Regions from separate parts of the Homo sapiens genome. Here regions 2, 3, 4, 5, 6 and 7 are each linked to region 1. The links are contacts of gene promoters, found by promoter capture Hi-C in blood cells and fetal thymus (Javierre and others, 2016). All regions are on one chromosome and are shown on one strand. Each heading gives the region's core, a stretch centred on a gene start or on the middle of the fragment in contact. The rest is flanking DNA. Distances are from core to core; before and after follow the strand shown.

The links. The method cuts DNA at HindIII sites, captures the fragments that hold promoters and counts their contacts. A CHiCAGO score of 5 or more calls a contact.
Region 2: a contact is called between a fragment that was not itself captured here and the fragment with the promoter of TIMP3 in region 1, in 10 of 17 cell types (erythroblasts, megakaryocytes, M1 macrophages and 7 more). The highest score is 10.3, in erythroblasts.
Region 3: a fragment that was not itself captured here is called in contact with the fragment with the promoter of TIMP3 in region 1 in 7 of 17 cell types (megakaryocytes, M1 macrophages, M0 macrophages and 4 more); the score reaches 10.7 in megakaryocytes.
Region 4: a fragment that was not itself captured here is called in contact with the fragment with the promoter of TIMP3 in region 1 in 1 of 17 cell types (fetal thymus); the score reaches 5.6 in fetal thymus.
Region 5: a contact is called between a fragment that was not itself captured here and the fragment with the promoter of TIMP3 in region 1, in 3 of 17 cell types (erythroblasts, megakaryocytes and fetal thymus). The highest score is 8.8, in erythroblasts.
Region 6: a contact is called between a fragment that was not itself captured here and the fragment with the promoter of TIMP3 in region 1, in 11 of 17 cell types (megakaryocytes, monocytes, M2 macrophages and 8 more). The highest score is 16.4, in megakaryocytes.
Region 7: a contact is called between a fragment that was not itself captured here and the fragment with the promoter of TIMP3 in region 1, in 1 of 17 cell types (erythroblasts). The highest score is 6.1, in erythroblasts.

What each region holds. Positions count from the first base shown.
Region 1 is chr22:32,799,310-32,803,404 of GRCh38, reverse strand. It overlaps TIMP3 (TIMP metallopeptidase inhibitor 3), which reads right to left and starts at 1,700. Exons shown (of 5, transcript NM_000362.5): 1 at 1,283-1,700. The coding sequence starts at 1,403. All of the region lies in intron 6 of SYN3 (synapsin III), which reads left to right. The HindIII fragment of the contact is 16,798 bases long and covers 1-4,095 here.
Region 2 is chr22:32,548,644-32,552,738 of GRCh38, reverse strand. All of the region lies in intron 7 of SYN3 (synapsin III), which reads left to right. LOC124905103 (a long non-coding RNA gene) reads right to left here. Exons shown (of 3, transcript XR_007068067.1): 3 at 1,665-4,095. Among named protein-coding and RNA genes, the nearest start is that of SYN3-AS1, 24 kb to the left of the region's middle. The HindIII fragment of the contact is 2,479 bases long and covers 1,007-3,485 here.
Region 3 is chr22:32,565,853-32,569,947 of GRCh38, reverse strand. The region is part of intron 7 of SYN3 (synapsin III); the gene reads left to right. Among named protein-coding and RNA genes, the nearest start is that of SYN3-AS1, 7.0 kb to the left of the region's middle. The HindIII fragment of the contact is 839 bases long and covers 1,980-2,818 here.
Region 4 is chr22:32,599,530-32,603,624 of GRCh38, reverse strand. All of the region lies in intron 6 of SYN3 (synapsin III), which reads left to right. Among named protein-coding and RNA genes, the nearest start is that of SYN3-AS1, 27 kb to the right of the region's middle. The HindIII fragment of the contact is 8,146 bases long and covers 1-4,095 here.
Region 5 is chr22:32,965,229-32,969,323 of GRCh38, reverse strand. The region is part of intron 3 of SYN3 (synapsin III); the gene reads left to right. Among named protein-coding and RNA genes, the nearest start is that of SYN3, 91 kb to the left of the region's middle. The HindIII fragment of the contact is 4,613 bases long and covers 1-3,983 here.
Region 6 is chr22:32,647,377-32,651,471 of GRCh38, reverse strand. All of the region lies in intron 6 of SYN3 (synapsin III), which reads left to right. All of the region lies in intron 1 of LOC105373002 (a long non-coding RNA gene), which reads right to left. Among named protein-coding and RNA genes, the nearest start is that of SYN3-AS1, 74 kb to the right of the region's middle. The HindIII fragment of the contact is 8,009 bases long and covers 1-4,095 here.
Region 7 is chr22:32,934,806-32,938,900 of GRCh38, reverse strand. All of the region lies in intron 3 of SYN3 (synapsin III), which reads left to right. Among named protein-coding and RNA genes, the nearest start is that of SYN3, 120 kb to the left of the region's middle. The HindIII fragment of the contact is 890 bases long and covers 1,967-2,856 here.

The DNA.
Region 1 (4,095 bases), core at 451-2,950:
CTCAGCCCAGCCCACCAGCAGTGCCCCTCCCGGCCCTCACTGCCTCCCCTGCCAAGCTCCTACCTCCTCCCCCTCCTCACCACAACACGCTGGTAGAGTCCCTCACCCAAGACTCAGTGGAAAATTTCCTTCTCCTTTATGACTGTACTTAAAACACACACGCTCCATTCTTCACCTCTGAATCGACACAGGCAGAGGGCGGCAAGGCTGTCCCACCCCACCGCCCAGCCCAGCCCAGTGCACACACACACACTCTCCCAGCAGAGCCACTGGACTTGCACGCTTTATGGGCTGGAAAGGAGGAGAGAGATGTTTCCCAGATGCCACTCCACCTTTAGCCATCCAAACACAAGTGTCCCAAACACTCCCAGACAAGCCTCCCAGGATGCTCTCGGGGCCCTCCATACACACTAAGGAGTAGGAGGTCTCTTTACAGGGTCTCTCTACTCAAGACACTAAGTCCAGTCTGGAACTGTCACCGTGATGTGACCCTTGGCAGGTTTGTTCTTTTGGTGACAAATCTGTTTTCCACTACCCATTCTCCCCCTCCCCACACACATTCAAGGGGGAAAAAAATAGCCTTCCTGTGAATTTTCACAGCTATGTGGTGAGTGACCCCTCGCACCTTCTGCTGGCTATCAACACTCTCAAACACAGTGCCTCCAGGGCGTGGGTCAATGCCACAGCTTTCTCCTCATTTTCCCCCTTAAATCCACCCAAACTTGGCAGTCCCAGAAGCTCGGTTAGCGCTTGCCTGGGAAGCCTGCAGCTGGGTTGGGTCTCAGTGAAAAGAATGAATTTCATAGGCGCAGGAGATGATGCAGACTCGGAGTACTCCAAGTTTCTCCTGCAACTTTCCGTGCACATGGCGGGCAACTTTTTTTTTTTTTTTTAACTATTCAATTTCCCAGCACTTTAGTTAGCATTCCAAGTTTTGGGAACCCTTTCCCCACCCTTCTCTTCTAGCCCTTCCTCCGTTAGTAGTGAATGGGGACATTTTCCAGATGTCAAAAGGACCGGTAGGAACCTCACGACCTAAGTTAGGAAAGCAAAGGCGGCCAGGGGCTCCCTCAGCCACTGTGAGTTTCCTCTGCAGGGCATCTTCCCCTCTCAGCTATGCCAGCGCCCCCGCCCAAGGACATCGAGTTTCTCCACTCCGCCCCAACCCCGTCTGCCCCTCTCCTGGGGCAGAGGAAAGGAGTGGGGCTCGCCCTGCCTCCCTAAGCAGCGCTGCAGTCCTGGCTGCAGCGTGGGGCTCGGGCGGGGCACCAGGAGCGCTTACCGATGTCGGAGTTGCAGAAGGCGTCCTGGGGGTGGCTGGGCGAGCATGTGCACGCCTCGGCGCCCCAGTCCCCCAGGCTCCAGCTGCCCAGGAGCACGATGAGCCCGAGCCAAGGGGTCATTGCCGCTGCTGCCGCCGCTGCCGGGGCTGCTGCTCGCCTCTCCAAAGTTGCCGTGCGCGCCGCCGGCGGGGCTGCTGCAGCCCGAGCTCGCTCGCCCGCCGGGCCGTGCGGGGCAACCTTGGCCTCCGGCGCGCTGCCCTCCGAGTGCCCGGCGGGACGGGATGGGGCGCAGCGAGGCTGCCTCGGCGCTGGCGCAGGACTCGGCGGGCGGCCTCCCGGCGAAGGAGCAGGAGCTGGAGGAGCAAGAGGAGGAGGAGAAGCCGTCTGAGCGCCCGCCGCCTGCCTGCTGCCCGCTCTGCGCCGCTGCCTGGGCGGCCGAGTGATATAGCGCTGGGCCCCCGGGGACCCCGCCTCGGGCTGTTGGGGCCCGCCCCCTCAGACCAATGGCAGAGCCGCATTACCTCATCGGCCCTCCAAAAAGGGGGCGGGGCCGGGGGCAAGGGGTAACGGGGCGGGGCCGCCCCCGGATCGTTCAGATCCTTATAGGGAATAATGCCGCCGTGGGCACGCGAGTGGGTGGGCTGGGGCGCGCCCGGGACCGGTGCTTGCCGCTGGGTCCTCGGAGCGGAGCCCTCGTGCCCCTTCTCGTCTGCGCCCTGGCCCCACGCCCACCTGGGCCACTGGGTGTCTCTGACCCAAACCAGAACCAACTAACACCCACCCACCCCAGCAGGACCGCTTCCACAGGTGAGGGGTGGCCATGTCCTAGAGACCTTGACTGTGCTTGGTGGAACCAGCGGGGGAATGCTAACTGCTACCCCTCCAGTTTCTCTGGAGAGAGCAGGCACAGAGGAGAAAGACCCAAACTCTCTCTCTTTCTCTCTCTCTCTGGTTCTTACTCTCTGGGATATGGGAAGCCATCTGCTGTTTGCAGCTGGCTATGATATATGATAGAAGACTGTTTTCTGTGCTCTCCCAGAGCAAACGGGGTTCTGTATTCATTCAACAAACACGGTTCAGGATGCTGGGTTAAGCAACACAAAGCCCTTGCCCCCGTGGACATCCATGAATGCACAGGGTGATTTTCTGTGATGCTAGGGCTATGAAGAAAACAAAACAGAGTTCTGGGTTGGACATGACTGGGGAGGGCCTGCTCTCTCTGCGATAGTAAGGGAAGGGCTCCCTGAAGTGCCATCCTCGCTGAGAAGTGGACAAAGACAAGGATCAGCTCTGGGGCAAGCCACAGGAGAGAGGTACCAGGCAGGGGGAACAGCAAGTGCAAAGACCCTGGGCATGTTTGAAAGACAGAAAGTAGAAAGGCAAGAGGAAGTGGTTCCCTGCCCATGGCTGACAGAGCTCCACCCTTCAGCAAGGGATTTGGGGGTGAGCTGATCCAAAACTGTAGTAAAACCAGGAGAACGATCCAGGATCCTAGACGACTAGCTATAATAGATGATTGCAGATAACTAACACAATTACTATCCTTATTATTGACATCTTGATTCTGCTTTGTATTTTTAAAAGCAGGATTCTGTATCTCACCGTATTATAGCTCTCACAATAATCTTTGTGGGTAGGAAAAGCAAGCACAAGTATCACTCCCACTTTCCAGATGAGGAACCGGCACAGAAAGATGGGATGATTGGTGGCCAGCCAGGAACTCGTCACCCCTTTCCACTGCTCCTTCCCATCTGAAGAGAGACATGCATTTCCCTGAACGTCAGCAGCTGTTCCATCTAACTGCAAATGGCCATTTGCAGCTGGGATCTTCCATCTTTCTACACTTTTGTCTCTTTCCCTTTCTCTTCCGCTTCATCCTGTTAGAAATGCCACAAGTTTGGAACAAATAGAAACAGGGAGAAATGCAAGTTCAGCTTCTTTCTCAGAACTCCTCTGTTTACATCTCAGACAAGTGACATTGGGACAGCAGAGGCCGAAGAATTCGTGAGAGATGGTATTTCCAAGAACATTTTTGAAACTCCTTTTTCCCCTTTGAGCACTTTAGCCATAGGAAAGGGAAACCAGTTTCCACATCTTTTTGACTTGTCCCCTCCACCCAGCTTTAAAAACCTTCCCTGCCTTCACTCTAACTGTGGCCTAACTCGTAGAGATGTTTCTGTCTCTCGATGTTTTTCTAGCACTGTTTTCATTGTTTTATGGGGTATGATTCTATTGCTTCCCCAACCACAGTAGGAATACTTTGAGGCCTGGGATATTTAGCCACACTGCTTTTTAGCCCTCTCAGAACCAAATAGGGTCTCAGGAGACTGGAGAGCATGGGTGTGGCCAACAGCTGACTGAGTCCTGAGCAGAGTGCCCTGGAGGCCACTCTAAGGATCCAGGTTGAATGAGGGCATACGTGGTGGAATTTGAGAGATTCGCTTATCCCCGCGCCCCACATGACTTATTCCACAGTCATGTGGAAGGTTTTAGAAGACTTTCCAGACCAAATCCACTTTGGATAAGCATCTTACATGATAGAGGCCCTCTCTTCCCTTTCTTTTCACATTTCAGTTTTGTCCAAAGTGCCGATATTTTCTCCAACGGAAGGCCTTGCCTGGAATATAAGTATCAAGTAGATAACTTCTGCTGAACTTCAAGCAGCAGTTTTCTCATAGAAAGCATCTGAAGCGTTTTTTTCCAGCAGCTACTTAATTATGAAAGCACAAGTATAATCTGATCTTTTTTCCAGCTGAAAAGTAACGAAATTACCTTTTGGTTAATTTCTTCTCACTCCCTATCCTAAGCTGGT
Region 2 (4,095 bases), core at 997-3,496, 250 kb after region 1:
GATTTTATTGCAAGAATGGGTTGTAAATCTCTTAGGCACCTCGTGCTTTTTCCTCTTAGGGAGACTGAATCATGTTACTGATCAAAGTTTCTTTTCTTCAACAGACACACAAAAAAGGGGCCACATCTATATCCAGACATAACCACTGTTAACCCCAGTCTAAGTACAATTTTATGTCCTCATCTTTGTTTTTCTCCTTTAGTCCTGCTTGTTTTTAACCTAAAAGTTTCAAATATATACAAAAGAAGAGAAAATGGTAAACTGGAACCCCATGTACCTTTAGCCTCACACTAAAAAAAAAAAAAAAGAAAAAAAAAAGAAAAACCTTTGACCCAACTTCAACCATTATCCACTGATGCTCAATTATATTTTATGTACATCTCCAATCTTCCTCTCAAACACCTCTGGATACTTTTTTCAGATCTAATTCTCATGCTATAAAATTCACCCTTCTAAAGTGTTTTCAGTTTTTTGTTTTTTGTTTTTTGTTTTTGAGATGGAGTCTCACTCTGTCACCCGGGCTGGAGTGCAGTGGCGCGATCTTGCTCCACTGCAACCTCCGCCTCCCGGGTTCAAGCGATTCTTCCGCCTCAACCTCCCAAGTAGCTGGGATTACAGGCGCCCGCCACCACTCTCAGCTAATTTTTGTCTTTAGTAGAGGCAGGGTTTCACCCTGTTGGCCAGGCTGGTCTCAACTCTTAACCTCGTGATCCACCCACCTCGGCCTCCCAAAGTGCTGGGATTACAGACGTGAGCCACCGCACCTGGCCTTCAGTGTTTTTTAGAATATCTACAAGGTGGAAGCATCACCGCTGTATAATTGTAGCACATTTTCATTATCCCACATCAATTAGCAGTGACTACCCATTCCTCTCCCCCAAGTCCTTGGCAATTGCTCCTCTGCTTCCTGTCTCTGTAGATCACTGGAATATTTTAAAGCAAATCTCAGATATCAAGTCATTTCACCCATAAATATTTCAGTGAATATTTCTAACACACAAAAGCTTCTTTTTTTGTCTCTAATGTAGCCAAAGACCTAAAAACATAATAATAATTCTTTAATATCATCTAGTATATCATCAGTGTTCAATAGCCTCCTGTTAATTGATGTGTTCCATTGTATGCAGACAAGTCCTTCATATTCACATGGTTAGTATGACATAAGCCTCTTATGATCTATAACAGTTCAGTCTCCTCTGTTTTTTTTTTTTCCTTGTCATTTATTTGTTGGTGGGGGGAGGCCATTTTTCCTGTAGAATTTCCTACATGCTAATTTGGCCAATGGCAGCTCCATGTTGTTCCTCTATCACCTGCATTTCCTGTAAACTAGTAGTTAAATGCAGAGATTTTTATCTGAATCAGGTTCTGGATTCTGGCAAGAATACTTCCCTGGTGCAGGGTGGGGGTAGGGGCCATTATCTTGCATCACATCTGACTGGCAAGTCTCTCTGTTGAGATGTCAAGAGTGGTCCTTGAGCTCAGGTATCGTCTGCCTGATCCACACATTATCAAGTTTCCCATCAGCCTTTCCCCAGTGGCCTTGGCATTGATCAGCATTGCCTCAATCTGTTATTGCATTAGGGGCTGCAGAAGGATGATGTCCTAATTCTATTTCTTTTGCATTTAGTAGCTAGAAAACATCAAAGAGAATATTTCTTCATCACTGTTATTTACCCATTTATTTTGGAATAGTGAGATAGTGTCTTAGCACCCTCCAAACATGACCAATGATCTTTTTGTCATTGGTTATTAACAATTTGATGTATTTCAATCTATTGAAGTCACTATTCTTTCTGATACTCAAGTTATCCCATCTTTGGCTAATGGGAGCCCTTTTGAGTTGATTTATGTGTCTTCTTGACATGGTAGCTTTCCTTTTACTAGCATGATAAGATGTTTTGAACTCATCTTGTACATTTTCTGCCCAAACCTGGAATCAGTCATTTCCCCAAGGAGCCATGGAAGCCTTTCAATAACATAATGGGTTTTAGAGACCACAATCTGGGTGCTAAATATGTTTATTCTTATTTTTTTTTTTGCCATTTCTAGGCCTTTTTGGCAGACACAGGGAAAAATGCATATATGTTTTTAAGAGAAAAATACATCATAAATTCATCCTGATATTTTGAATTCAAATCTTAGATTACAACACTTATTTATTTTATTTTAAAATTGTATCTCTTTTCTCTTATATTTAAAAATCTTGGGTCCTAATAGCATTATTACTATTATCATGGTTTAAAATAGCAATACCATTATTATTACTAACAAGTTGAATAAAATTTTATATTTCTTAGCAGTTTTAAAAAATCTTTTGGATATTTTCTGCTAGGGATATATAGTTACTGTTGTGTTGAGCTTTTTTTTTTTTTTTAATGTGGTTAAACAAATTATAGAACATCTACCATGTGCCAATTACTGATCAGGCTGTTAAGAAATAAATTCTAGTGTGAAGGACAGTCAAATAAGTATATTATAATACTGTGGGTTATAAGTAATAGTAAGAATTTATTCATCTAAGAAATGGAATATCACAGAGATCCACGTGCTCAGCCTTCTGTTACAAAGTCACTTGAAATAATTCTTCTCTGTAAGTTTAAGCCACTAGCTTAATATATTGTTAGACTAACTTTATTTTGTTTTCTGTTTTCAGGAAATTCTTTCTCCAGTTGATTTATTTTGTTTTATAATTAATAACCATTTTTGCTTGATTCCAAAGCCAAAATTATAAAAACAAGATATATACAGTGAGGACTAGCCTCCATCCCCGTCACCTCCCGCTTCCCTTCCCTCTATAGGTAACATTCTCATTTGGTTTTGGTTCATTCCTTCATTGCATTTTTTTTTTTTGAGACAGAGTCTCGCTGTGCTGCCCAGGCTGGAGTACAACGGTGCAATCTCAGCTCACTGCAACCTCCACCTCCTGGGTTCAAGCAATTCTCTTCCCTCAGCCTTCCAAGTACAGGTGCACACAACCATGCCTGGCTAATTTTTGTATTTTTACTAGAGACTGAGTTTCACTATGCTGGCCAGGCTGGTCTCAAACTCCTGCCCTCAAGTGATCCACCCACTTTGGCCTCTCAAAATGCTGGGATTACAGGCGTGAGCCTGCGCACCCAGCCTGTATTTTTTTAATCAAATATGTGCATTGTCCACAAAAAAATTCTTGATAAAAGTTTGCATGTTGGCTGGTCATGGTGACTAATGTCTGTAATCCCAGCACTTTGGGAAGCCAAGGCCGGAGAATTGCTTGAGCCCAGCAGTTTAAGACCAGCCTGGGCAACATGGTGAGATCCTGTCACTATAAAAAATAAAAAATTAGCCAGATGTGGTGGCACATGCCTGTAGTCTCAGCTACTGGGGAGGCTGCGGCAGGAGGATTGCTTGAGCCCAGGAGGTTGAAGCTACAGTAAGCCATGATCATGCCACTGCATTCCAGCCTGGGTGACAGAGGGAGACTCTGTCTCAAACAAAAAAAAAAAGCTTGCATGTTATCCTCATTATTCTGCACCCTATTTTTTTCACGCCATAGCAGTATGTAGATCCTCCTCATTGCCTTCTCTTGACTGCAAAGCATTCGATTGTGTGCATGGAGCACCATGGATGCAGCTGTCCCCTGCTGAGGAGCATGTGGGTCAGCAGTCAATGCACCATCCCGGTGGCAGTCCGCCCTACATACCTTCTTATCCCAAATGCCTCCTCTGGCCAGAGGACCATCCCAACATCCCTCCAGCTCCATCCACAGCTCTAGGCCGCCCACCCCTGTCTTCAGGGTCTCATCTAACTTCATCCTGTCCTCAAGGCTTAAGGTGGAGCTATAAACCTCTGAGATCATAGAACATGGCCCAATTGTTGACAGAAAACTTTCTTTTACACGTAGTGCTGCAATAAACAGCCTTGCGTGCATACCATTTCATGTGTCTTCCATTATATCTTTAGGATGGATGTTTAATAGTGGAATTACTATCATCCGGCTTTTAATTACGTCTCATGTTGTATGTTATATATCTTTGAAATTTGCCATAAATTCTTTCTAGAACAGGTGGCATAAAAATATAAATATTTTAGGCCAGGCACGGTGGCTCACGCCTGTAA
Region 3 (4,095 bases), core at 1,150-3,649, 230 kb after region 1:
TATCCTGGACTTTACAAAATCTCTAGATACCTTTTTGATAAAGGTGCTTACGGTTAATGACAAACAGCTAACATTCGTTGCTTTGTGCCTGGCACTGTTCAAATCATTGGGCCAGTTTACTTCTAAATCTTCACAGTAACTCTGTGAAGCAGGTACTATTACAAACCCCATTTTACGGATGAGAAAATTAAGGTTTAGAGAAGTTAAGAAATGTCCCAAGGTCACATAGTTAGGAAGTAGTAAAGCCTGACTCCCAAACCATGCTCAAAGCCATACCTTCCATTTGTGGAGTATTTCGTATTTTTAAAACTCTTATGCATGCAATAATAACCATCACCTAGAAGAAATAGATAGATTTTATATATATATATATATAGAGAGAGAGAGAGAGAGAGAGAGAGAGAGAGAGATTGATTGATTTTAGATAGATATAGATAGATGATACATTTTAGATACAGATAGATTTTAGATCAATTGATAGATTTTAGATAGATAGAGAAGATAGATAGATAGATAGATAGATAGATAGATAGATAGATAGATAGATTTTGGATGGAGATAGATAGATTTTAGATAGGTATAGATGGATAGATAGATATATTTTGGATGGATAGAGATAGATAGATAGATTTTATATAGATAGGTGTAGATAGATAGATAGATAGATAGATAGATAGATAGATAGATAGATTTTGGATGCATAGAGATAGATAGAAAGAAAGAATTAGGTAGATAGAATTTCTAATCCTCCCAACTCTCTGAGGGTGAGTATAAATATTATCATCTCCATTTTACACATGAGGAAATTGAACCCCAGAAAGACTTAAGAACTCATTCCAAATCATGGCATTTGTAAGTCCCTAAGCTAGGATGTGAATCTAGACCATCCTGACCCCGTCATCTATATACTTGCATTGTGCTGCCTGCAAAATTTCTTCTGATTCCTCTAACAACTTTGTGACTTGCATGGGAAGAATGTGTGTCATAGTGCAGCCTAAACACCCATCAAATGGAATTCTACAAACCCAGCCTGATTGATTAGCTTCAGGAGGCCCCTCAGTATTCAGGCAATACAAAGTAATACATCCCCTAGGACACTCTCCGGTTGTGTCTTTCAAAGTCTTTGCAAACTAGCTATTTTCTACCAATTTGTTACCAACCTAGCTAGCTAGGTATCCACCTATCTGTCTGCTACAGATATGTTAAAATATGTTATATGCTAAAGTCCTACCCCCCAAGGTGATGGAATTAGGAGGTGGAGCCTTCGGGAGGTCATGAGGGCAGATCCCTGAGGAATGGGATTAGTGTCTTTCTAAAATAGGCCCTGGGAGCTTGTTTGTCCCTTCCATCCTGTGAGGTTACAGGAATAAATCAGGGCCTCACCAGACACTGAATCCACCTTGACCTTGGACTTCCCAGCCTCCAGAACAGTAAGAAATACGTTTCTGTCCTTTATAAGCCACCCAGTTTATGGTATTTTGTTAGAGCAACCCCAATGGACCCAAGACACTATCTGCTTATTTGTTTTCCATTTCCCTGACTAGAATATACCTGTCTTATTTATGACTGTATTCCCAATGCCTAGCACAGTACCCTCAATAAATATTTGTAGACTAAATACAAAGCCCTGTGGAAGTCCAGAGGAGGAAAGAGAAATTCCTAGGAGCTGGAGGAGGAACTGAGTTTTAGGGTTTTGAGGAATGAGTAGGAATTAGGTAGAGGAGCAAGGAGAGCATTCCAGGAAGGAAACAAGAGCAAAGGTACAGGGAGCCCAGGCTGGTGTCATTCAGGACCTCCCAGAGGCACAGCTCTCCACAGCAGCTAGGAGCAAAGGTCTGGCTGTGCTTTTGCCTGTCAACTCCAGGAAGATTCTAACAGCCTTGCCTGTCCCGTGAGGAGCTTTAATCATCCAGAGGACTTTATGCAGCTGTGACCGTCCGGTCCCTTCTGAAACTGGGGATCATCCTCATTAGCAAGCTTCCCCCTCCAAACAACACTGATGCATAAAATGGCCATGGCTCTGGCCCAAATCAGGGTTGGCAAGAGAAGGAGGAGGGAGGCAGGGAACCTATACCCGCAAGGAGTTCAATAAACCTCCTCTTCCTGGGGTTTCATCAGCTTGGGAGTATAGGAAAGTAAAAACAGCAGACTCTGGGCCCAGACAATCTTCCCACTTCCTGGCTGTGTGACCTCGGGCTGGTCACGTGCTGCCTCTGAGGCTCGTCAACCCCATCTGGGGATATGTGGATGATAATCCCTACTTCCATGACTTCAAGATTGGTATCCACTGTCCAAAGTAGCCACCCTCTCCCCGACCACACAGTAGACCATGCCAGCTCCACATGTGAAATGTATCAGTCCATCCCAATTTTTTAGCTAATGTTCTGAGGCCCAATACATAACCCTTTTCTTCCCCTTCCATATTAAGGACCAATTGAGAATTTGCAGAAAACCATTGCCATAAGCTCCATGGAGGCGGGAATCTTAATCTCTTTTGGCTCTGTGTTCTATTTCCACCACCTAGCAGAGTACCTGGCATACAGCAGTCCCTTAATACATTTTTGGTGAAGGAAGGAAGGAAGGAAGGAAAGAAGGGAGGGAGGGAGGGAGGGAGGGAGGGAGGGAGGATCTCCGTCATCGTTCTATTGCACCTGCCCTAGAACACTCAACCTTGAATCAATCCACCGATGGGCCTTCTCCTTTCCTAAACTGACACTGCTGAGCACAGTTGGAGAAAACCTCATCACTGATCTCATGCTCCTACTACAAATGCCTCATCTCCAACCCCAGCAGGGCCCTAGTGGGTCCTGGTGAAGCTTTTACATCTCCCTAGTCAGTTACCTTTCCCAGTCTCACTGTGGCATTTCCAGAACTTTGCTGCTCTCTTCAAGCCCCACGTCCTTCCCATCAAAGAAGAGAATCCATTCCCCTGTATCAAAGTTCATCTTCCTGCACCTCTGCCTGCCCCCACACCTTCTTTCCCATCTCAGTGGAGTCTTTTCTCCTTTGTAGATTTCATTTTACCTCTGAGTTCTGGCTCTCATTTCCATCATAGCCTCTAGGACTTGGCTACCTGTCCGTTTCTTCTCACTCCTGGCGCTCAATGTTGCTTTCTGAAGGGCATCTTTCAACACTAAAGAATGTTCAAGTCTCATTTAGATTTGAAAAGAATAAATAAGTCTTTGCTGAGCCCTTGTACCCCTTTACCTACCTTCTCAGCCAAGTTTCTTAAAAAGGAGCCTGTAGTTGTCTCCATTCTCTCCAGCTCCCTGAATCAGCTCCCACCACTCCACAAAGTTTGGTCTGGCAAAGATAATTCATGACCTCCAAATAGAAAATCCTGATAAAGTCTTCAGCCCCTTGTTTTGCTTGCTCTCCTCCGGGTTGTGTCACTGTTGTACCCATCTCTTAACACACAAACTTTACGTCACTTTCAGGGACACCATGCTGGCTGCCTTTCCTCCTTTGTCTCCAGCCAGGCTTTCCCAGGCTCCTTTGCAAGCTCCTCTTCCACCCTTCCCTTGAGCATCCATGTGCCCTACGGTTCTGACCTTGCCCCCTCTCTCTTTCTCACTGTCCACAGATCCCTCCATCTTGCACTGTCCAGTTTGGTAGCCATCAGCCACGTGCACCTACTGAGTGCTTGACACATGCCTCTATTGAGATAGGCTGAGTATAAAATACACACCCAATTCCAAGACTAGAGTTACAAAAAAGAGAACATAAAATATCTCAATCATAATTTTTATATAGATTACACATTGAAATGAGAACTTTTTTTATATCGGGTTAAACAAAATACCCTGGCCAGGTGCAGTGGCTCACACCTGTAATCCCAGTGCTTTAGGAGACCCAAGCAGGAGGATCACTTTAGGTCAGGAGATTGAGACCAGCCTCAGCAACATAGCAAGACCCCATCTCTAAAAAAATAAAATAGGCTGGGCGCGGTGGCTTATGCCTGTAATCCTAGCACTTTGGGAGGCCGAGGCGGGCAGATCACCAGGTCAGGAGTTCGAGACCATCCTGGTTAACATGATGAAACGCTATCTCCACTAGAAATACAAAAAATTAGCTGGGCGTGGTGGTGGGTGCCTG
Region 4 (4,095 bases), core at 1,140-3,639, 200 kb after region 1:
TGGGGTGGCCACAGGGCAGCAGCACCGTCTTCACTGTCTGGCTTCGGGCAAAGGGCTGTGTTTTCTTTCTTTCTTTTTTTTTTTTTTCTTTTTTTTTGAGACGGAGTCTCGGAGTCTCGCTCTGTCGCCCAGGCTGGAGTGCAGTGGCACGATCTCGGCTCACTGAAAGCTCCACCTCCTGGATTGACGCCATTCCCCTGCCTCAGCCTCCCTAGTAGCTGGGACTACAGGTGCCCGCCACCATACCTGGCTATTTTTTTTTTTTTTTGTATTTTTAGTAGAGATGGGATTTCACCATGTTAGCCAGGATGGTCTCCATCTCCTGACCTTGTGATCCGCCCGCCTTGGCCTGCCAAAGTGCTGGGATTACAGGCATGAGCCACCGCGCCCGGCCAGCGCTGTGTTTTGTTATCTATAACATGGGGGAGGGAAAGGATGCTACCATCCATAAAGTGCCTGGTCCCGTTCCTGGCCCTTCTTACATGACAATAAATACAGTCACTTTTAGCCTGGAGGTAATATGGTGGCTGATTCACCCCGTATGCAATGCCATGGCATCCGGTTTCATTTCTTGAGCTCTAACAACTGACTTTAGAAATAGAAGCCTGGGCGACAGAGCGAGACTCCATCTCAAAAAAAAAAAAAAGAATGTCTCCAAATTCTGCTGGTTCTCCCTTTGAAAATCTCCTGGACTGGCCTGGAGGAATTAAAACACTAGCTCATAAGGACATGTGTACAAAGATGTTTAATGAAGTCTCGTTTATAGTAGCAGAGAGAGAATGAATAACACAAATGTCTATTAATAGGAAACCAGTGCACGTGTACATGTGTAGACGGTGCAGCTATTATTAAAACTATCAGGATTGGCTGGGCGCGGTAGCTGACGCCTGTAATCTCAGCACTTTGGGAGGCCGAGGCAAGCGGATCACAAGGTCAGGAGATGAAGACCATCCTGGCCAACATGGTGAAACCCCGTCTCTACTAAAAATACAAAAATTAGCTGGGCATGGTGGCTCGTGCCTGTAATCCCAGCTACTCAGGAGGCTGAGGCAGGAGAATCGCTTGAACCAGGGAGTTGGAGGTTGCAGTGAGCTGAGATCGTGTCACTACACTCCAGCCTGGCAACAGAGCAAGACTCTGTCTCCAAAAACAAACAAACAAACAAACAAAACAAAACAAAACAAAAAACTATCGGGATAGAACTATCTTTATTGACATGGGAGGAGGGGTGTATACAGTGTGACGTTAAGAGATAAGAGCTATTTTCAAAAATACAAACATCAGCCTCAGCCATATCCGTGCATACGTGTTTGCAAAGATTGCACGTGGTGAGGGATGGGCAGGAATACACCCCAGACACACTGGGGAGGTGAGATTAGTTACCTGGTCTGGAGAAGGGGAGTGGGGAAAGATAGAAGAAAATAAAAACATCTGTAGCAAAAATAAGAAAACACTTATGGTATAATATTAAGTGAGAAGATAGATGCAAAATTCTACCTCTAATATTGTTGTAAAGTATCCTGGGGGTTTTATTGGACATATAAAAATTATAAGGTAATGTGGACCAATGCAAACACTGATTTGGTTAGACAATGAGATTGTAGACAATTTTTGTCTTGAATTTCTCTGGTCATTTTAATACTATTATTTCAATAAAGAAGTGTCACAAAAAAAAAAAAAGAAAAGAAAAGAAAAGCTCTGGGAGTGCTCCCACTCCCTCTACCATTTCTTCCCAGTCCAGGCCCAACCAGTGGCATTTACTGTCTTTAGAATGAATTCCAAACTGGCCCCTGGCCCTTCAGTCACCACTAGCACAAATCCATCCTGCCCACAGCTGGCAGGTCGCTCCCCGGTTCCAGAACTATCCTGCTTCCCCACTGTCCATCCAAGCAACCTGAACTCCCCTCTTTGGTTTCAAAGGCCCCCAATAATCTGGCCCCAAATTACCTCTTCTGTGTCCCCAGCACTAGCCCGGAGTCTTGCCAGCCCATACGTGGTTCTAAAAAGATTGCTGTTTCCCACAAGTCAAAGTAAAAAATGGCAAAGGAGGCTGGGCGCAGTGGCTCACGCCTGTAATCCCAGCACTTTGGGAGGCCAAGGCGGGTGGATCACGAGGTCAGGAGATCCAGACCATTCTGGCTAACACGGTGAAACCCCGTCTCTACTAAAAATACAAAATATTAGCCGGGCGTGGTGGCGGGCGCCTGTAGTCCCAGCTACTCCGGAGGCTGAGGCAGGAGAATGGCGTGAACCCAGGAGGCAGAGCTTGCAGTGAGCTGAGATCGCACCACTGCACTCCAGCCTGGGCGACAGAGCAAGACTCCATCTCAGAAAAAAAAAAAGAAAGAAAAAAAAAGGCAAAGGAAAATTTCCCCTAGTATCAGGAAAATCCATTGCTTTGGATGAATTCTGAAATGTTTTCTGTGAAATATCTTACTTAAACATTCTCAGATTTTGCTAGATTGACTTTCTGTGTTCTCTAAATACAGATACAGCACCTACTCCACAATTTCTAGCAATGAACACATTCCTCCAATTTCATTTAAGAACCCTGGAGAAGGACATGCCGTTCAAATATACAATTCTGTTCAGCAATCACCTGCAAAATAGATTTATTGCAGATCAAATCATATTAAGTGGCCGGGAGGGGTGGCTCACGCCTGTTATCCCAGAACTTTGGCAGGCCGAGGTGGGTGGATTACCTGAGGTCAGGAGTTCGGGACCAGCCTGGCCAACATAGTGAAACCCGGTCTCTACTGAAAATACAAAAATTAGCCAGGCATGGTGGCACAGCCTGTAATACCAGCTACTCGGAAGTCTGAGGCAGGAGAATTGCTTGAGCCCAGGAGACAGAGGTTGCAGTGAGCCGAGATTGTGCCACTGCACTCCAGCCTGGCAGACAGAGCAAGACTCTGTCTCAAAAAAAAAAAATCATATTAAGTTGCATAAAATAAATCCTTCCTTCCTATGGGTCTTTGTTTATTAGAGCTCATGAAGAATCTAAACATGCCCCACGGGAAGACCGTGGTGGTCTGCACCATTCACCCTTGGGGGAACTCTGTGCCTTCTATCCATCCACCCACAACCTACTCATCCTTCAGAACCCTGGTCAGAGCCTCATTTCCTCTGGAGCAGGGGTCCCCCACCTCTGGGCCACAGACCAGTACAGGTCCATGGCCTGTTAGAAACAGAGCTGCACAGCAGAAGGTGAGCCGTGGGTAAGTGAGTGAGGCTTCATCTGTATTTACAGCCACTCTGCATCACTCGCACGACCGCCTGAGCCCCATCTCCTGTCAGATCAGAGGCAGCATTAGATTCTCATAGGAGTACTAACCCTGTCGTGAATTGCGCATTCGAGGAATGTAGGTTGCCCTCTCGTTATGTAAATCTAATGCCTGATGATCTGTCACTGTCTCCCATCACCCCCAGATGGGACTGTCTAGTTGCAAGAAAACAAGCTCAGGGCTCCCACTAATCCTACATTATGGTGAGTTGTGTAATTATTTCATCATGTATTACAAGGTAATAATAATAGAAATAAAATGCACAATAAATGCAATGCTCTGGAATCATCCTAAAACCATCCCCTCATCCCCCTCTAGTTCGTGTAAAAATTCTCTTCCACAAAACTGGTCCCTGGTGCCAAAAATGTTGGGCTCTGCTCTGGAGACTTGCACATGACCGCGACGTACCCCACAGCTTCCTGCCATGCTGCCTCACTCTGCTCTTTCATTGTACAGCCCATGGGTCCAAGCAGATAATAAATCCTCTGAGGGCAGAAATCTTGTCTCAACCTTTGGTGTGCCCCAACCAGCACAAGACACATAACTAGCCACATAGTTCTCATTCAGTCGTGCCCACGCAATTGATTTGATATTATTTTATTGATCACTATCATGGGGGGTGGGGAGCATTTATTACACCCCAGATATGCATATGATTCCCAGAAAAGTGTGCCTTGATGGAGAGAGTGCTTGATGGAGAGTCAAGACACATAAACTTGACTTCCGGCGCAGTGGCTCACACCTGTAATCCCAGCACTTTGGGAGGCTGAGGCGGGCGGATCACGAGGTCAGGAGATCGAGACCATCCTGG
Region 5 (4,095 bases), core at 428-2,927, 170 kb before region 1:
GAACACAACATGGACTGTGTTGCCCGTTGCATGACCCTTTAGACTCTCCTCTTCTTTTCTGCTGGAGGAGAGTACAGCATCCTGGTTTGGTGGCACCATTCAGCACCTGCACTGGAGATGAGAAGGAAGGAGGCATGGGAGTCAAAGGGAGTCCATCCTCTTGCACTGGGAAACCCAGCTCAGTTCCTTGGCCTTTAGCTGCTGTGTTTGGAAATTCACCTTTCCTTACTGCCACACCACTTCATCAGCATCAGCACGGCCCCCTGTTAGTACCATTGATAAATGAGACTCCAGTGGAAATTAAGTGGACATTCTGAAGGAGAACTTAGTAAGCCCTTTCACTTCTTGAAGGATGTGTAACAAAACAAACAGAGCTTGTCTTATCTGAACCTGTTCCTTCATTCAAGAAGCACTCACCGAGCACCTGCTCTGTACTTTGTCCTAATGACAGAGCCCTCCACACTCAAAGGGTTCTTTATCTGGTGGGAAGATAGACATTGAAGGCAGTGGCCAAAATGTGTTGCGACGAGGATCTCTCTATCGTAGAGATTTGTCTAACCTTGGGATGTTCTCAGGAAAGACCTCACAGAGAACCTGATGTGCAGCTGGGTTTGGGGACAAGAATTAGGTGAGGGTGAGTGGGCAGATGTGCACATTGGGCCTTCTAGCTAAAGAGCATGATTCAAGTCTCAGCTTGTCACGTACAGGGCAAATGACCAGGGTATGCCATGCATGAGAAGGGTTGGTGGGAGACGAAGCTGACAAAGAAGGTGGAGGGCAGTCTATTCAGGGTGGGCTATTAGTGCAAGGCATGCAACTAAGAATTGTGTCCTAGAGGCAGGATGTATGTATTGAACTTTTTAAGCCATGGAGTGCTGTGACCGTGATTTCATTTTAGAATGCACAGGCTGACAGTGGTCTTAGAAGATTCGCTGGATAGGAATGGTGGCTTGAGACTGGAGGCAGAAAAGCTCAGCTCTGGATTTGGTGCAAAAGTCATCTCATCCTTGAATATGATGCTTGGGTAGGAGGCACATGGAAGGGACTTCATAAGTGTTAAGTGAATGCATGTACATCCTCGCCACTGTGTTCCTTAACCACTTGAGCCATTCTCATACCTGTAATTCGTATTTGAAACTGGAGGAGAAGAGATGACCTATTTTTCTTAAGACTGAGAGGATGGAGTCAGACCCACATGATGTGTTTCAGCTGGCATTTCTTGAAAGCGAGCCATTGCCAACCTCCTCTTGTTCACCACCTTAGTCCAGCCACTTGGACTAAGCCGTTTCACACTGCACATGTCAACTTGCTCCCAATCTGCCTAATCCCCAGCCTTGTGATTCCTTCATCTGTTGATGATCTCCCTCCCCATGCGCTACTGCCCCTGGTTACACCACTTCTCCAGCGTGGCCTTCAGCTTTTGTGTGGCTACTCTACATTTTCTGCCAGCTCTGCTGTTGTCTGTACCATTTGGGGTCTGGCCCACTCCCTGATGAGAGGAGCCCCCACTGGGCTCACCCCAGCCCTGCCAGCAGCCTCTGCCCGGATGTGCTTACACAGTGGATTTGAGCCTTTGCATTTCAGTGGGAATCAAGGGTTATTAATTAACCTAGGGTGGAACCTATTATGAAACATCCCAGAAAACTGGAATGAACCAAAGGGACTTCTGAACTCACAGCAGGGAAAAATGCCTTTTAATTGACTTGGATGACTTCACTGCAAAAATCTGTCTGGCTGTTATGCTAAACTGGAAACTAATCTATTAGATTGTCTAAGGAATCTCCCAGCCCACTCTAAGCAGAGTCTCCTGAGGAGGGGAGTGAGCTGACATATCAACAGGACTTAGGCATTGAAATGACTTCCTTTGGATCATACACAGTCTGGGCGCATTTTCTAGTCCCTCAGGAAGGAGCTGGGAGGCTGATAGCAGAGAACGAGTTTATGTGCCCTACAATGTCTATCTTTAGTATCACATAGGATTTTAGTAGTTCTAAGGCACTATTTACTTTACAATAGAATTCAACCTAAACTGGACCCGTTTTGGTCCAGTCTTGGCCCCCTCATCTCAGGGAGTTTTAGAGGGTGACCTGAGAGAGTTTCCACTGGCGGTGCCTGAGGCAGATGGCAGCTGTACAGCCTGGGCTCTGAAGGAATTAATGATCATAGGCAGTATCTAATCACATGCTTACTAAGTGTCAGGCACACGCTAAGCATTTCATATGGATTAGCGTGTTTCATCCTCATCATGACTCTGATGAACAGGTACTATGAGTTCCCCCATTCTCCAGATGAGGAACCTGAGGCTTACCCAAGGCCACACAGCATACAAGTGGCAGAACTGGAATTCAGAGTCAGTTTAACTGAAGAATCTGTGTTTATGGTTCTTTTTATTTTATTTTATTATTTTTTGAGACAGGTTTCACTCTGTCACACAGGCTGGAGTGCAGTGGTGTAGTCATGGCTCACTGCAGCCTCAACCTCCTGGGCTCAAGCCATCCTCTCACCTCAGCCTCCTGGGTAGCCGCGATGACAGGTGCGCACCACAACACCTGGCTAATTTTTAAAATATTTTGTAGAGACAGGGTCTCACTGTATTGCCCAGACTGGTCTCAAACTCCTGTGCTCAAGTGGTCCCCACAGCTTGGCCTCCCAAAGTGCTGACATTACAGGTGTGAGCCACCATGCCCTGCCTGTTTATGGTTCTTAATCTTTATGCTGGCTCATCTGGGAAGGTGTATCCTGAAGCAGTAAAATCCAGGGAAGGCTTGGTCACTTTCCTCTCATGCATAAAGGGCTGACCTGTGCATTAGACTTGTTTTGGGGGTCTCAAGCTCTGCACACAAGGCCCTCCATGAGCTTGCCCCTGCCTGCCTTTCCTTGCTCATCTCCTCCCGTGCTCTACCTTAGACTTCGGTCTCACCAAACTGCTGTGGTTCCCCAGTGCCCACCCATGGTAATACCATCTTGGAGTCACATCTCCATGCCTTTGCTTATGCACGTCTCTCCTCCTGGGACATCCTTTCTTAGATTTTGCCATAGATTCTTCAACATTAGCTCCAACATGATGTCTGTGCTGCTTCCTCTGCCCTCCCCCTCCATCCAGGCAGGGTGAGGTGCCTCTTCCCTGTACTCCCCTAGCACCTCATACCTGTGTCTACATCACACTTCCCAGATGACTTTGAGATTACTAATTCACCTGCCCCTCGCTCCCTGTAGACTCTGGGCTCATTGGGAACAGGGACAGTATCTTTATTCATTCCACAAATATTCATTGACTGCCTATGTGCTGCGTGCTCAGGTTACAATGGTGATTAAAAACAGATGGAATCTGGCCGGGCGCGGTGGCCCGTGCCTGTAATCCCAGCACTTTGGGAGGCCAAGGCGGGCAGATCACAAGGTCAGGAGATCGAGACCACCTTGGCTAACACAGCGAAACCCCGTCTCTACTAAAAATACAAAAAATTAGCCGGGTGTGGTGGCGGGCGCCTGTAGTCCCAGCTACTCGGGAGGCTGAGGCAGGAGAATGGCGCGAACCCGGGAGGCGGAGCTTGCAGTGAGCCGAGATCGTGCCACTCACTTCAGCCTGGGCGAAAGAGCGAGACTCCATCATAAAACAACAACAACAACAACAACGAAAAAGCCAGATGGAATCTCTACCTGATGGAACTTAACATCTAATGGCAGGGGCCAGAAATTAATCATATTATCTATCTGTCTCTCTCTCTCTTACGCACACACACAAGCATGCACACACACACACACACACACACACACACACACGTACGCACCATAATTACAAACTGTTAGAAGCCGTGAAAGTAGGGTACACAGTGCTATGGTAGACTGTGGTGGGGAGGCTGGCAGGACACTTATTCGGTACATAATAGGTGCTCCAAGGACCCAGATACCTAATCTGTGTTCAATATATATTTCTCAAACTTATCCAGAGTGGGGAAAGATGAAAGAAGCTAAAGAGAAAAGCTTTAGGCTACTGCAAGAACCCAAAGAGCCTTTGGCATGGTAAACAACACAAACAAAGCATTAGCCCTGCAGGAATCATGCAGATAAATCATTGATATAGTACAGTGCAGGTAA
Region 6 (4,095 bases), core at 652-3,151, 150 kb after region 1:
CATATCATGGAGAGGGGCAAGAATGTTAGCCACACCATCGAAAATAACAACCCTACCCAGAGGCCAGCTGGAGACCTCCTAACTCAAGGAAAATTCCCTGGCCTTTCTCAGATTCTTGCTAATCACTGGTGGGCTCATCTTCTTCTGAACTTCCTCTGGGGCACTGACTCCCCCATGGCCATCACCCCACACACATCAATGCTGGCATCAAGTTCAGTGGCTTCTCTTTCTCCCGCCACAAGCGAAAATGTCTCCTACCAAGAGCAGTGTGTTTAGTAGACTCACTGACCTCCTTAGTGAGGTCCCAAGAAGGGAGTCTTATCTCACAATACAGAGCCCTTGTCTGTCTTCTTGGCCTTCTGTGCTCTTCCATCTCTACTCCTCAGACCCCTCACAGTTGGCCAAGATCTCCAATTTCTTCTCCCCAGTCCCTCCCACCCATGAGGACTTGGCTGCAGCTGACCCCAGACCCTCAAGTGACTGACCTTCTATTCCAGTCGCTAAGTATGTTCCCCACAAAGACTTTCCTCTCTAAGGAGGACTGGGGAAGCAGCTGTTATAAGGTAATAAAATAAAATTCATATCAGCATAAGAATACTTGGTATTGTAATATTTTTGGCCGTCTCTAATGCTGGGCAAGAAGCTAAGTGCTTGGCATGCATTATCTCATTTAATAAGAGACTCAGATTGTCACAGCGCTGTACAGTAAACACGCGGCATAGTGAGTCAGAGCATACTCTCTCAAATTAGAGTTCCAACCCTGCCTCTGACCAGCTGTGTGAGCCTGGGCTTTGTAGTTCATATCTCTGGGCCTCTGTTTTTCTCCTTCATTTGTGTAATGGGAAAGAGTAGGAGCATATTCTGCTTAGCATTATTGTGAAGATTGAAAGGACCAATAAAAGTGTAAAGTGCAGCCAGGTAGAGTGGCCTGCCATCCCAGCACTTTGGGAGGCTGAAATGAGGGGATCGCTTGAGCCCAGGAGTTTGAGACCAGCCGGGGCAACATGGTGAAACTCCGTCTCCACAAAAATGCAAAAATTAGCCAGGCATGGAGGTACACACCTGTGGTACCAGCTACTCGGGAGGCTGAGGTGGAAGGATTGCTTGAGTCTGGGAGGCAGAGGTTGCAGTGAACTGTGATCGCTCCACTGCACTCCAGCCTGGGTGATAGAGTGAGACTCTGTCTCAAAAAGAAAGAGAGAGAGAGAGAGAGGGAGGGAGGGAGGGAGGGAGGGAGGGAGAGAGAGAGAGAGAGAAAGAAAAGTGTAAAGAGCTTAGAATAGTGTCTGGCAATTAGTACATGCTCAATGAATGCTGGCCGTTGTCATAACTGTTGGAGAATGAATAGAGAAATTTGAGATTGCGTCTGTCTTATGATGGGATAACTCACAGAGCGGGGGAATTGGGGGAAGAGTTCTATAGCATGAGTAAGAGTTCACCTCCAGGAACATCTAATGCTCTGAATTTTATGAAATCAAAGCCTACTAGTCATGAGCCCCTTCTCAGCCTCATCAGCTTTTTCTCCTGGCTTTTTCCCCACTGATTTTCTCATTCCCACAAGGCCCAGTGAGACACTTGGGAAAATATTTTCCAAAATAAATTTCAAGTCATTATTTGTCCTAAACCACCCGATTCTGTGGCCCAGCCCTGTCTACTAATGTTACCGCCCTGTCCCTATTTAGACTGAGGTTTTATAACCAACCAGCCCCTCACCAGGGCTTCCCTGTCCGGCCACCCCCTGCCTGAGTCATCCTGTGTTGTCACAATTCTAGATTTATGATGTTGGCTCTTGTGGTCTCAAAGATGACTCTAGATGGGACCAGCCTTGGGCCCAGCCGCGAAGCTAGTTTTGTTGTGTTCCGCCTCCCACCACCCCATTCTTCCGTGGTGTAGTAAGAAGAGCATGTTCTGGGAGTTGGAACAGGGTTGCCTCCAAGCTCAGCTGTTTCCTTTCTGTGTGATCTTGGACCAGGAGGGCTTTCTCAAAGTCTCAATTTCCTCATTAGTAAATGGGGATGTTTGAAGATGAAATTAAATAGACTATACGAAAATGCCTGTACTCGGTACATACTAGGGGTCATTAACATCTATTGTCACAATTTTGAAACATAATAAACCATCCCAAAGCTCGGCGGCTTAAAAAATAATTATTCTTGCTCTCACAGGTCAGATGGGAATTGGCTGCTCTAGGCCTGGCGCTGAGTGGACCAGCAAGCTAGCCAGGACATGGCTAACTGCAGCAGTACAAGAGGGTCATACCCAAATTCACAAGCACATTTTAAGCCACTGTTTGTGTCACGTTTGCTACCAGCCCATTGGCCAAAATAAGCGACATGACCAAGCCCAGAATTAGGGATAGGGGAAGTATACTCCGCCTCTAGTGGAAGAAACTATCAAGTCACCTGACAACAGGTATTGATACAGAGAGGGGTGAAGAATTAGGAACGATGATACAATCAACTGTAATAGGTGGTCAGGAGATACTTGTTTCCTAATTTCATACACTCCTTCACATCCAGGGGCCTCTTTGTTTTACTTTGTGCCCATCCAAACTCCCTGCAGGGAGAAAATGTAAAATGCACATTCATTGGTATGAGTGGCCAATGACTGTTGTGTGGCACCTCAGAGTAAAAGAGGTGCTTCTTGGACAACAACAAAAATCATAATTGTCCATCTTAGTTGTTTGCTGTGAGCCAGGCTCTGAGCTCAGCGTATACTCTGTGTGTGTGATGTCATTTAATCTTTCAGCAACCTCAAGAGGTAGTACGTTCCCATTTTACAGCTAATGAAACTGAGGCTTTGAGAGGTTAATCAACCTGCCCATGGTCATGTAGCTAATATGTGCCAAACAGGGCTTTACAATGCCAAGTCTCAAATGCAGATATTTCTAACCAATGCTGTGCTCTTTCCATTAAACTACTAAGGGCAGGATTTTCACTGGGGCCAAAACTTTAAGTCCGGGTTTCCCAAACTTCAATCGTTGGTCACAACCTTTACAATTTTTACCATATTTATGTACTGTGTATACTGTAATTCATATAATTATTGATATTTTTAAGTTTTATCTTCAATAAACCTATTTTCAAAGAAACTGATGACTACCATAAATGGAAAACCAGTATCTCCTGACAAAAGAAAATAACCATAAAAAACACAAGAACAAAGCAATATTATTGAATTCATGCTGGATACTCTTGCTTGCTATGGGCTCCAAGCTCTCCAGGAAAGTGGGAGGTTTGCTAATATTGGGGAGGTGTTGAAAGAGCACAGGAACCAAACTAAGACTCTCCTTAATAGAGTCTCAAAAGCTAAGCCAGGTGTAGCGGCTCCTGTAATCCCAGCAATTTGGGAAGCTGAAGTGTGCAGGACTGCTTGAGGCCAGGAGTTTGAGACCAGTCTAGGCAATGTGGTGAGACACCCCCCCAATCCCTACAAAAACTTTTCTAAAAGTGTGTCTGTAGTCTCAGCTACTTGGGAGACTGAAGTGAGAGGATCACTTGTGCCTAGGAGTTCAAGATAAGCCTGGACAAGATAGTGAGACTCCATCTCTACCAAAAACAAAAAAAATGTAAAAAAATATTAAAAATATGTAATCCCAGCACTTTGGGAGGCCGAGGTGGGCGGATTGCAAGGTCAGGAGTTCGAGACCAGCCTGGCCAATATGATGGAACCCTGTCTCTACTAAGAATACAAAAATTAGCCAGATATGGTGGCGCGCACCTGTAATCCCAGCTACTCCGGAGGCTGAGGCAGAAGAATTGCTTGAACCCAGGAGGCGGAGGTTTCAGTGAGCTGAGATCACGCCACTGCACTCCAGCCTGGGCAACAGAGCAAGACTCCATCTCAATAAATAAATAAATAGCTGGGAACAGTGGCACACATCTGTAGTCCTAGCTACTCAGGAGTCTGAGGCAGGAGGGTCACTTGAACTCAGGAGGCCAAGGCTGCAGTGAGCCATGATCATACCGCTGCACTCCAGCCTGGGCTATAGAGTGAGACCCTGTCTCAAAAAAAAAAAAAGAAAAAGAAAAATCTCAAAGCTAGAAAATTCACTGAAAAGGAAATAACTTTCTCAGCATATGATTCAGTCTGTTG
Region 7 (4,095 bases), core at 1,162-3,661, 130 kb before region 1:
GCCGAAGTGCAGTGGTGCAGTCTCTGCTCATTGCAACCTCCGCATCCCATGTTCAAGTGATTCTTGTGCCTCAGCATCCCAAGTGGCTGGGATTACAGGTGCGTGCCACCACACCTTGTTGATTTTTTGTCTTTTTAGTAGAGACGAGGTTTTGCCACGTTGGCCAGGCTCGTCTTGAACTCCTGACCTCAGGTTATCCACCCGTCTTGGCCTCCCAAAGTGCTGGGATTACAAACATGAGCCACTGTGCCTGGCCTATGCCTTCACTTTTAAAAGATAATTTTACTGGGTATAATATTCCATACCGACAGTTGTTTTTTGGTTGGTTTTCTTTTTCTTTTCCTTTTTCTTTTTCTTTTTTTTTTTTTTCTGAGACAGAGTCTCACTCTGTTGCCCAGGCTGGAGTGCAGTGGCGCGATTGCTGCTCACTGCAAGCTCTGCCTCCCGGGTTCATGCGATTCTCCTGTCTCAGCCTCCCGAGTAGCTGGAACTACAGACACCCGCCACCACGCCTGGCTAATTTTTTTGTATTTTTTAGTAGAGACAGGGTTTCACCGTGTTTGCCAGGATGGTCTTGATCTCCTGACCTTGTGATCCACCCGCCTCGGCCTCCCAAAGTGCTGGGATTACAGGCGTGAGCCACCGCGCCCAGCCTGGTTTTCTTTTTCTTTTAGCTCTTTAAGGAAGATTTACTACTATCTTCTGGTTTTCTATTTTCTCACAAGAAGCTGTTTATCATTCTTATCTTTGTTTCTCTTTATATAAAATGTATTTTCCCCCCTTTGGCTGCTTTGAAGATTTTCTCTTCACCACTGGTTTTTAATAAGTTGGTTATTCTATGTCCTGCTGTTTATTTTCTTTGTTTCTTCTGCTTATGATTCATTGAACTTGTTAGGTCCAGTTTTCATTAAATGTAGAAAAACTTTGGCCATTTTGTTTTAAATTTTCTGTCCCTACCTCTTCTCTTACTGAGACTTTAATTACTCATATATTAGACTATTTAATATTATCCCATAACTCACTGAGGTTCTGCTCTCTTTTTCTTTCTTTGCTTTTTTTTGTGTGTATTTTTGTCTCTGTGCTTCATTTTGGGTTGTTTTTATTGTTTTCTCTTCAAGTTCACTAGCATTTTTTTCAGCAGCATGATATGGTTTGGCTCTGTGCCCCACCTAAATCTCATGTTGAATTGTAATCCCCGCTGTTGGAGGTGGGGCCTGGCAAAAGGTGCCTGGATCATGGGGGTGGTTTCTAATGATTTAGCACCATCCGCCTTGCTGTCCTCATTATAGAGTTCTCACAAAATCTGGTTGATTAAAAGTGTGTAGCACTTCCCCCTTTGCTCTCTCTCTCTCCTGCTTCTCTGCCATATGAGGATAGTGCTTGCTTCCCCCTTGGCCTTCCACCATGATTGTAAGTTTCTTGACACCTCCCCAGAAGCAGAAGTCTGTTCAGCCCACACAACTGTGAGCTGATTAAATCTCTTTTCTTTATAGACTACCTAGGCTCAGGTAGTTGATAGCAGTGTAGAACAGACTGATACAAGTGTCTAATCTGTTGTTAAGCCTAGCGGTGCATTTTCTATTTCAGATATTATAATTTTTATCTCTACAAGTTTCATTTTTAATTTTTAAAATATGTTTCTTTCTCTCCCATTGTATTGTTTCCATCTACATTCTTGAGAACCTCTTTATAACAGTTGTTTTAACTTCCATTTCTGCTCTTCCCATCATCTCTCCATTTCCACGTCTGTTTCTATTCGTTGATTTCTCCTTGTTGTGGGTCATATTCTTCTGCTTCTTTGCATTCCTCGTAATTTGTGATTGAATGTCACTACTTTTACATTGTGAATGTGATGTGTTGGGTGCTGGGTTTTGTTAGATTCCTTTAAACAGTGGTTTAGTTTTTTCTGAGATGCAGTTAAGTTACTTGTAATAAACTTGATCCATTCAAGACTTGGTTTTAAGCTTTTCTTGGGACAGATCTACATGGAGTGATTGATTATTCTAGTTTGCCTGGGATTAAGGAGTTTTCCAAGACATGGGACTTTCACTGTAAAACTGGGATTGAAGAGTTTCTGAGAAATGGGACTTTTAGTTTTAAAGCTGAGAAAGCCCAAGGCAAACCGGGACAAACTGGTCGTCCTAGATCCAGAGCATGCTGTTGGCCAGGGATAATTCAGTCCCACTATGAAATTTTGAGTAACCTACCCATTTGACAAGGTCTTTACCCTCTAGCTGGTGAGCACATGGGTTCTTCCCAGCTCTGTGGATTCTGGAGATTGTTTCCTAATGGCTTTTTCCTGGCCTTGATTACTTTCCTTTCATGTATGCTCAAATTAGTTACTCAGCGAAAGACATAGATCTCCCTGGAGTTTGTGAGGTTTTTTGTTTGTTTGTTTGTTTGTTTGTTTTATTTTTTCTCTGCAGATTCATCTTTTCCTATACTCTGTCCTGCAAATTTTAGCTGCCATGGCTACCCTGAACTTCAATCTTTGTATCCTTAACTCAGTGAAACTGATGAACTCTGCCTTCTCCCATGCTGTTCTGCTGCCTGGAAACTGCCTCTAGGCAGTAAGCTAGGATAAACATAGGGATAATTTTGTTCCCTCTTACAGGAATCATAGTCCTGAAATGCCTGTTGTCTAGTTCCTGAAAACTGATATGTAATGCAGTTTGTCTGGCTTTATTGTTGTTTAAGATGGGAGTGTATATGTAATCTCTGGTACTTCATTGTTGCCATATGCAGAAGTCTTTACATTTCACACCTCCATATATTTTTTAAATGTATATGTTATAAATACTTGAAGGAGTTGTTCTTTTTCAGGGTACACCAGTTTGGATGCTTTCAGTTTAAGCTTACTAAGACAATGGAATATTTGAAAATAATAATGGCAACTATTTACTGAGTCTCAGCCCTGTGCTGGATGTTTCATATACATTGTCTTGAATCATCACAAAAACATTTAAAGATAGATATTATTGATATCATTACCTCTGTTTTAAAGATATCAAAATTGATATTCAAATCAGTAACTTCACTAAACTCATCAGCTAGTATATTGAACAGCTTACATGTGAATGTAGTCTCTCTGAGTACTCATTTGTCCATACCACAGTGCCTAATGTGTAGTATTAAAATGTTATCCCACCAGCTGGGCACAGTGGCTCACGCCTGTAATCCCAGCACTTTGGGAAGCTGAGGCGGGTGGATCGCCCTGAGGTCAGGAGTTTGAGACCAGCCTGGCCAACATGGTGAAACCCTGTCTCTACTAAAAATACAAAAATTAGCCGGGCGCGGTGGCGGGTGCCTGTGATCTCAGCTGCTTAGGAGGCTGAGGCAGGAGAATTGCTTGAACCTGGGAGGTGGAGGTGGCAGTGAGCTGAGATCACGCCGTTGCACTCCAGCCTGCGCAACAAGAGTGAAACTCCATCTCAAAAAAAAAAAAAAAAAAATACCATACCAAAAGCCTTAGAGGTCAAAATAATTTGTGGTGAAAAGGTTAGCTCATGCAGAATATTTAAGTAATTCTGATAGTAGCGTTTTTTGCGATATAGGTGAATAACTAATTTGTTATTTTGTGTGTGTGTGTGTGAGAGAGAGAGAGAGAGAGAGAGAAAGAGAGAGAGAGAATGAGTCTAGGTGCAGATTTCTATGCGCATGTTTTTGGTGAAGTGAATAAAGGAGCTTTACCTGGCCACATTGACCTTCTTCGAGCCCTGGTGACTTTGAATATGATACTGAAATTGCATTCAATTCCCAAAGTTATTATTTTAATTTGCTAGGTTCCACAATTACCATACACTTAGTGGCTTAAAACAACAGAAATTTATTTTCTTCCAGTTCTGGAGGCCAAAATTCCCAAATCAAGGTTTCAGCAGAGCTGCACACCCTCTGAAGGCTCCAGGGGAGACCTTCCTTGGCTCCTCCAGCTTCTAGTGACTCTCAGCATTTCTTGGCTTGTGGCAGCATCACTCCATCTCTGCTGCCATCTTCCCATGATCTTCTTTCCTGTGTCTTTCTGTCTTTTCCTCGTCTCTTCTCTTCTAAGGACTTGTTAGTGGATTTAGTGTGCCTCCCCCGCAACTCCCACCAGTC